3 separate regions of the Homo sapiens genome follow, and regions 1 and 2 are each linked to region 3. The links are contacts of gene promoters, found by promoter capture Hi-C in human tissues and cell types (Jung and others, 2019). All regions are on one chromosome and are shown on one strand. The core of a region is centred on a gene start or on the middle of the fragment in contact, and the rest is flanking DNA. Distances in the headings are between cores, read along the strand shown. Region 1 holds the start of DNHD1 (dynein heavy chain domain 1). Region 2 holds the start of OR56B4 (olfactory receptor family 56 subfamily B member 4). Region 3 has its middle 29 kb from the start of CAVIN3.

Region 1 (2,983 bases), core at 119-2,618, 150 kb after region 3:
TGAGCTATGAGCAGAGGAGTTATAGGATCTGCCTATATTTGAAAAGGATCACTGGCTGCTCTAAAAAGAATGGATTGTAGGGGCAATGGTGAGAAGCATGAGAAGGATCTGAGGCAAGGAGAACAGTTCAAAGGCTGTGGAAAAACCCAGGTGAGAAATGATAGCAGCTTAGACCAAGGTTGTAGTACTTAAGATGGTGGGAAATAGTTGGATTCTGGATATATTCTGAAGGCACAACCAGCAGAATTTCCTGAAGGATTACTTATGGAGGGAGGGGGAGAGAGAGAAAGAGAAAGGGAAAAAGAAGAGGGAAAGAGAAAGAAGGGGTTTGGAAGAGGTCTCAAAGCTGACTCCAAGGTTTTGGTGTGAGAAACCAGAAAGAATGGATTTGCCATTGACTGAGGTGGGAAAGACAGTGAAAGGAGCAGCATTTCTTTGGTGGGGAAAGGGTGGTTAGGAGCCTGCTTTTGGACATTTTAAGTTTGAGATACCTATAAGCTCTCCAGGTGGAGACATTAAGTAGGCAGTTGGATATACTAATCTGATTTCAGAGGAGAGGTGGGCTGAATTTCTTTTTTTATTTTAATCATCAACTTTTTTTTTTTTTTTTTTTTTTTTGAGATAGAGTCTCCCTCTGTCGCCCAGGCTGGAGTGCAGTGGCGCGATCTCTGCTCACTGCAAGCTCCGCCTCCTGGGTTCACGCCATTCTCCTGCCTCAGCCTCCCCAGTAGCTGGGACTACAGGCGCCCACCGCCACGCTCGGCTAATTTTTTTGTATTTTTAGTAGAGACAGGGTTTCACCGTGTTAGCCAGGATGGTCTCGATCTCCTGACCTCGTGATCCACCCGCCTCGGCCTCTCAAAATGCTGGGATTACAGGCATGAGCCACCGCGCCCGGCCTCATTCAACTTAATTTTTAAAAATTAGCCCCTCCATAAGCCCTTCCCCAAAAAATCCCCCTCCCCCCGTGCCAAATAGATGTTGAGCTCCTTGAGATCAAGGATTTTGTTTTATTCGGGCTTCTTTTGGGGAGGTGGGATAGGGTAGATGGATACGTTGGGGGTGGGGATGGGGGAGTACCAAAGACATACCAAAGACCTGGCACTAGTTTAGATACTCAGCGAATGGATATAAACACCTGCTTACGACACCCTCTGGATTGCTAGTCTCCCGAGTCAACCGTACTGCACGTGCAGTTCAGACCCCGCCTGGTCCTCTACAGGTCCCTGTCCCAGGCAAGCCTTAGCCCACAGGTTGAACCTAGTTCTGCCCCTCCAGGCTTGGGCTCTGCCCTCTCGGCCCCGCCCATATCGGACCCTGGCCCCTCCTCTTTCTGGCTCCCCCGGATGCTCCTGGCAAAGACTCGGTCCTTCTGGAATCTTGTAACGGTTCTAACAGCTGGGTGCGGGTGGAGCTGCGGGTGAGTCCTCGGCTCCGGATCCATTTCTCTTTGTTCCCTAGGACCCCCTCCCACAGAGTCCGCCTCCTCTTCCCCGCTCTCCCAGCCCCCTCCTTTGCCTGTTAACGTCTTCCCCTACCTGCATCCTGACCATCATTTGCTGTGCCTGCTCCTCGGCTTTCTGTCTTCACGACCTCCTTAGGCTGTGGGCGAAGACGTCATGGGACTGGGGCTCTGCTGCCTTCGAGTGACGACCTGTTAACCCGTTTTTCAGGCGATCGCCAGCTCGAGTGCAGATTCCTTGCTGTGACCGAGGTTCAGAGTGAGCTCTGTCGGTGTGTCAGTTTGCCTCTTCAGGTGATTGCACGTCTGTGTGCGAGTCTCTCCGTGTATGGGTGGCTATGATTAGGGTGAGCCTCAGACTGGAACTCAAGTCTAAGTTCATTCACTGCTCCAGCAGGCACTCTTCAATGAAACCTCATCAGCAGATCGGGCTCTCTTCCCTTGCCTTGCCTCCTAACCCCCCTAGGCCAGGTGAGGGGGACAGGGTACTGGGAGGTAAGAAGGAACTCTTCTGCAAGGAGGGCTCTCACGTCTGTCTTAGGCCTGCTCCTTACCAGAGTCTTTGGGGAAGCAGTAGGGAGGGCCTGAGGGTCTCAGGAAAGGCTCTCTGCTGGTCTGGCTCTGCTCTGTAGCTCCATCTATTTCCCTGTCCCAGGTCCTTTCTTCCTCCTAACCCCATTGACTCTGACCATCCCCTGCCCAGAGCCTGAGGTCCCTTCTCTGGCCCCTCTGCTGGGCTGGCCCATGCAGGTGAGGCCCCGCATCTGGCATCCTGGAACTGGCAGTTGGAGCCTGAGCTATGGGCAAGGTCACTTCGACAGCAGTTGAATGCCCAGCTCCTCATGGTCCCGGAGGAGAGGAGGGTAGGTTTGTCTTCTGATGAGACATCATCTGATTCCCTTAAGTCTTGGCACTCCATATGTGTCTTGGACAGCAAAGAACAGCCCTTGGCCTGCCAGCAGAAACAGAGGCAGTTCGTGAAGCCAGTGACTGAGTCAGAGCAGCCCACAGTGCTGGAACTCCTGCTAGCTGAGCTCCGAACTCTGTTCTCAGCTGTGTTGCAGGACAGTAGCCCTGCAGCTTGGCGCTATCTTCATGCAGTACTGGGTCTACTGCCTCCATATCGTGAGTTGCTAGTTGGCCACCTTGATTTGCTGCCCTTCCTGGAGCAGCTGTACTGCTGGGCACCCTGGGTCCAAACCCACCTCCATCTGGACCTGCTAGGTGCCATTGTCCAGGCCTTTCCTCCAGACAGCTCTTTGTTAGACAGTGCTTCCCATGCTGACTGCTGTCCCCAGAAGCGGAGGCTCCATCACAGGCCCCCATGCCCAGCTTGCCCTTTTGTGCAGGCCCAGTGGAGCAGGCAGCAAGTAAAGGAGGAGCTGGCCACCTGGCTGCGACCATTGACACTGCCTGAGCTACAGCGCTGCCTGGGCATTGTTGGTGCTCAGGTGGCCCTAGAAGAGGCTGTGTGGCTGGATGGACTTAGTCTCCTTCCCTTGGCACTGGCAGCGGACATCC
Region 2 (2,882 bases), core at 110-2,609, 240 kb before region 3:
TAAATGCTTGAGGTGATGGATATCCTAATTACACTGATTCGATCATTACACATTGTATACATGTATCAAAATATCACATGTACCTCCAAAATATCTACAAATATGATATATCAATTCTAAAAATACAAAAAAAAATCATTAAACTATAGGGCATCTAGGTGGTAGAAAATAATGCAACTTAACTGCAGTATGGAAATATGGAGCAGTCTTCAAAATATTAAGTTAAAAAAGAAAAGGAAAGAAAAAAGGAGAAAGGTGTGCTAACAATTGATTATGTCTTTTATGAAAATTATATATATATATATATATATATATATATGTTTTTATCCATGCATAAACTATTAATGGAAGGATTCCCAAGAAACATATTACTGGCTGCCTCTAGTGAAAAGGAAAAAGATTTCAAAGCCCCAAGCATGAGAGTCTTACTTTTCATTGTTTATATTTTTCATTTTATTTTGATTTTTACCATGTATAGATAATATATCTTAAAATAAAATCAAAATTATATTTAAAATTTTAAGACTATTATATCCTTTGTATATATAATTTTTGCATCACTTTTGAAACTCTACTCAAGGAAAACAATATTAAAAGCAAAATACCTGTCAGTAAATTATAGAATAGCCAAATGCAAAAATTTAAAGCAGCAATTAAAATTAACATCACACTTTTTAAATAATATTGTGAAGTCTTTGGTTAATGTATTCATCCATGAAATAAAATTTTTGAGTGCTTATATTACATCTTAACACATACTGCTAAAAGACAAAAACAAGATACAAAATCATCTCTAGATAATGATGTAGACTGTTTAAAAATAAAATAGAAAATTGGAAATAAATCAAATACTAACATTTGTTATCTGTTAGTGATAAGACTGTTGTTAATATATGTGGACATGCTTATTAGACATACAAGTGGTGATGAAAAATAGTTATTCCAACTCTTCTGTTTAGAATTTTTTTGCTTTTTTTGTTATTCCTCTGTGGAATATTTCCAGAAGTCAAATAAAGTTGAGGGTCATTCATGAATAAAAGGAGCTGGTTCATTATTGAGGAGCTCTTACCAAGACACTTAACTTTTTGTTTTGTTTTGTTTTTTAAGACAGGGTCTCACTCTGTTGTCCAGGCTGGGGTGCAGTGGCACAATCTCGGCTCACGGCAACCTCCGCCTCCCAGGTTCAATGATTCTCATGCCTCAGCCTCCCAAGTAGCTGGGATTACAGACAGGCACCACCACACCCAGCTAATTTTTGTATTCTCCGCAGAGATGAGATTTTGCCATGTTAGCCAGGTCAGTCTCGAGCTCCTGACCTCAAATTATCTGCCTGTCTCAGCCTCCCAAAGTGCTGGGATTACAGGCATGAACCACGATGCTCAGCCCCTTAGCTGAACTTTTAAACAGAGATTTCTTCTATTTCAGACAGACACTGAGACTGAGGCACCCATTCCATGGATACCTCCACCAGTGTTACCTATGACTCCAGCCTCCAGATTTCCCAGTTCATCCTGATGGGATTACCAGGCATTCATGAGTGGCAGCACTGGCTCTCCCTGCCCCTGACTCTGCTCTACCTCTTAGCTCTTGGTGCCAATCTCCTCATCATAATCACCATTCAACATGAGACCGTGCTACATGAACCCATGTACCATTTGCTGGGCATATTAGCAGTGGTGGACATTGGCCTGGCCACCACCATCATGCCCAAGATCCTGGCCATCTTCTGGTTTGATGCCAAGGCCATTAGCCTCCCCATGTGTTTTGCTCAGATCTATGCCATCCACTGCTTCTTCTGCATAGAGTCAGGCATCTTTCTCTGCATGGCAGTAGACAGATACATAGCCATCTGTCGCCCTCTTCAGTACCCCTCCATAGTCACTAAAGCTTTTGTCTTCAAAGCCACAGGGTTCATCATGCTCAGGAATGGCCTGTTGACCATCCCAGTGCCTATACTGGCTGCCCAGAGACACTACTGTTCCAGGAATGAAATCGAGCACTGCCTCTGCTCTAACTTGGGGGTTATCAGCCTGGCTTGTGATGACATCACTGTGAACAAATTTTACCAACTGATGCTAGCATGGGTCTTGGTTGGGAGTGATATGGCTCTGGTATTTTCTTCCTATGCTGTAATCCTTCACTCTGTGCTGAGGCTGAACTCAGCAGAAGCAATGTCCAAGGCTCTGAGCACTTGTAGCTCCCACCTCATCCTCATCCTCTTCCACACAGGTATCATTGTGCTGTCTGTCACACACCTTGCAGAGAAAAAGATTCCCCTTATTCCTGTGTTCCTTAATGTGCTGCACAATGTCATCCCCCCTGCACTCAACCCCCTGGCCTGTGCACTCAGGATGCACAAACTCAGACTGGGCTTTCAGAGACTGCTTGGACTGGGTCAGGACGTGTCCAAGTAACTCCAGCTTTAGGAATCCAGTAAGATGTTAGGAAATGACAGAGGTTTTAGTTCTCAATAGATCAGGGTTATAATCTGCACTTACCACACTCCCTAGGAAAAAAATGGCCAATAAAATCATGAAAACTGTCAGCCTCACTAATCAAAATATGTATATTAAAATTACAAGAAAATTTCCTATTACCTGGAAAATAAGTAAGAACAAAAAAGTGAAATGTTTCTAACTATTACTGCTAGCCTACCCCGAGATTAACACTTTCCTACACAACTGGTAGGACTATAAACACACCAAAAAGCAATTTGGTAAAATTTATCAAAATGTTTATAAATGTTTAAATGTTCTTAACCAGTAATTCTATTTTAGAAAAATATCCAAAAGAAATAGTCTAAATGCAGTCAAAAAGTTATTCATAAAAATCATTATAATATGACTAATAATAGAAAACAAAGCCTTTAATATTTACACATA
Region 3 (3,038 bases), core at 77-2,576:
AATGTGGGATATATTCAGCCCTTATAAAGAAGGAAATCCTTTCATTTGTGACAATATGGAGAAACCTGGAAAACATTATGTGAAGTAAAACAAGCCAGACACAGAAGGACAAATATTGCATGATTTCAGAAATATGTGGAATCTTTAAAAAGTCAAACTTATAGAAGCAGAGAGTAGAATAGAAGTTACCAGTAGCTGCGGCCAGGCGCGGTGGCTCACGCCTGTAATCCCAGCACTTTGAGAGGCCGAGGTGGGCGGATCACGAGGTCAGGAGATCCAGACCATCCTGGCTAACACAGTGAAACCCCGCCTCTACTAAAAATACAAAAAATTAGCCGGTCGTGGTGGCGGGCGCCTGTAGTCCCAGCTACTCGGGAGGCTGAGGCAGGAGAATGGCATGAACCCGGGAGGCGGAGCTTGCAGTGAGCCGAGATCGCGCCACTGCACTCCAGCCTGGGCGACGGAGCCAGACTCCGTTTCAACAAAAAAAAAAAAAAAAAAAAAAAAAAAGTAGTTACCAGTAGCTGGGGCTGGGGGTTGGGGTGCTGGGCGAGTAGGGAGATTGGGGAGACGTTGATCAAAAGGCACAAAAGTTTCCTCCAGTTAGACAGGAAGAATCAGCTCAGAAGATTTACTGTACAATACGATGACCATAGTTAATAACAATGTATTATACATTTGAAAATTGCTAAGAGTAGATTATGCTTTCTCACCACAGAAAAAATGTGTAAGTATTTGAGGTAATTGATATGTTAATTGGCTCAATTTAACCATTCTACAGTGTATTCATATATCAAAACATGTACACTAAAAAATCTATACCATTTATATTAGTCAACTTAAAAATTAATTTTTTAAAAAGATTAATTATCCTAGATAACAGCAGGACATCTTTTTTCCGTTTCTGCACATGGCATGAGAAATGTGACATGACCAGTTTCCAATTTCCAATGTAATGGGATCATCATTACAGGCACCTAGTGAAAATATCTCTCACTTTGTTTTTGGTTTTGTTGTTTTGTTTTGTTTTTGTTTTACTTTGAACACTAAGATGCTAAATACTTTGGTAGTAAAAGAATCTTGGTTAGAGAAAGACAGCATTTTGAGAATGGTTATTGAAGTATAATTATGAGTGGTGATGCTCCCATCTCCAACTCTTAATCCCTGGGCCTATGTGTTCTGACTTGGAGACATGAATATATGAATCTGGCAGAGAGCATAAATCACCAACAGCAAGACAAGATGCCTAACTCACAAGCAATTGTCCCCCAGCTAGGGTCAAAGCTGAACATTCATTTCTCTATAATGCCAGCAACTTCTGTCTGATAGGGTCTATATTAGCTTTCTAGAGCTGCTATAAGAAAGTGCCACAAAATTAGTGATTTAAAACAACAGAAACATATTCATTTGTTATCTTATGGTTCTAGAAGCTAGAAGCCCAAGGTCTCAGCAGGGCACTCTCAGAAGGCTCTGGAGAGGATCATTCTTTGCCTCTGGTAGCTCCCAGCAATCCTTGTCATTCCTTGGCGTGTAACTGCACCACTTCAATCTCTGTCTTCATTTTCACAGGTCCTTCTTTCCTCTGTATCCAAGAGTTTTCAAATCTTTCTCTCCTTATAGAGACACCAATCATTGAGTTTAGGGTCCTCCCTAATCCAGTCTGACCTTATCTTAATTTAATTACACATGCAAAGACCCTATTTTTAAATAAGGTCCTCTTCAAAGGTACCGGAGTTAGGACTTCAACATATCTTTTTGAAGAACACAGTTCAATCCACTGTAGGTCCCATAATGAAATCAATGAATGGCATGGACATTGGTTCTTTGCCTTACTTCTTTTTCTATGAAAAATTTCTTGACAGAGCTGTGATACATTAACTGTAAAAATGGACCCTGGCCGGGTGCTGTGGCTCACGCCTGTAATCCCAGCACTTTGGGAGGCTGAGGTGGGCGGATCAGAAGGTCAGGAGATCCAGACATTCCTGGCTAACACAGTGAAACCCCATCTCTACTAAAAATACAAAAAAAGGTCAGGAGATCCAGACATTCCTGGCTAACACAGTGAAACCCCATCTCTACTAAAAATACAAAAAAAAAATAGCCAGGCGTGGTGGCGAGCACCTGTAGTCCCAGCTACGCTGGAGGCTGAGGCAGGAGAATGGTGAGAACCCGGGAGGCGGAGCTTGCAGTGAGCTGAGATCGCTCCACTGCACTCCAACCTGGGCAACAGAGCAAGACTCAGTCTCAAAAAAAAAAAAAAAAAGACCCTATGCTTCCCCTGCCTCCCTGTATCCATACTTTTTGAAATGTGACTTTTCAATCCTTCCATCAAGAAAGTCTGTTTCCTCACACACTGAATCTAGACTGGCCTTATGGTTTGCTTTGGCCAATAGAATGCAGCAGAAGTGTCATCATACTATTTCTGAATGTATGCTTCAAACTTCTGGTCTCTCTTTTGGAAACCTGACCCTGCCATGTAAATAACACCAGGGTAACTTGATGCTTGATGAGACACATGTCCCAGTCTCCCATGTCACCCAGCCATCAGCCAGCCAACCACCAGACATGTGAGTGAGGCCATCCTAGACCAGTCAACCTGCAGCTGATCAACATGGTGACCCACAGATTCATGGGCAATAATATATGGTTACTGTTTTAAGCCACTATGTTTTGGGATGGCTTGTTATGCAGCATTAAATAACTGATAACAAGATATAACAGTATATATGACTCCATGACAATACATAAGACTTTCAGTAAGTTCGCAGATGTCAGTGCTGGCAGGAGTGTGACAAATGGAGAAGTAACACCCAAATTCAGAATAAGTGTCTATTCCAATGAGGACAAATGTCTGTCACCTATGTAATGAAACATGCCTAAAAACAATCTAGCTGGTAGCATTAGCTGGCTGATCCCATTAAATTATGGTCTCATAATATGGATTAAGAGTTTGTCACTGTTAATTGGCAATTTGCATATTTGGCTGTGGCAGTAGCCAAATAAGACACAGCCAAGAGAATTCTATTATGAGCCAAAAC

Evidence for each region. Contacts are between HindIII fragments. The study calls those that stand out against the background at their distance.
Region 1: a contact is called between the fragment with the promoter of DNHD1 here and a fragment that was not itself captured in region 3, in 1 of the 25 tissues and cell types used here (pancreas).
Region 2: a contact is called between the fragment with the promoter of OR56B4 here and a fragment that was not itself captured in region 3, in 2 of the 25 tissues and cell types used here (mesendoderm cells and neural progenitor cells).

The regions. Positions count from the first base shown.
Region 1 is chr11:6,495,912-6,498,894 of GRCh38, forward strand. It overlaps DNHD1 (dynein heavy chain domain 1), which reads left to right and starts at 1,369. Exons shown (of 43, transcript NM_144666.3): 1 at 1,369-1,420; 2 at 1,674-1,756; 3 at 1,860-2,983. The coding sequence starts at 2,305. The HindIII fragment of the contact is 8,534 bases long and covers 1-2,983 here.
Region 2 is chr11:6,106,325-6,109,206 of GRCh38, forward strand. OR56B4 (olfactory receptor family 56 subfamily B member 4) reads left to right here and starts at 1,360. Exons shown (of 1, transcript NM_001005181.2): 1 at 1,360-2,511. The coding sequence starts at 1,455. The coding sequence ends at 2,414. The region is part of intron 2 of LOC124902622 (a long non-coding RNA gene); the gene reads right to left. The HindIII fragment of the contact is 6,854 bases long and covers 1-2,882 here.
Region 3 is chr11:6,347,781-6,350,818 of GRCh38, forward strand. No RefSeq gene overlaps it. Among named protein-coding and RNA genes, the nearest start is that of CAVIN3, 29 kb to the left of the region's middle. The HindIII fragment of the contact is 9,857 bases long and covers 1-3,038 here.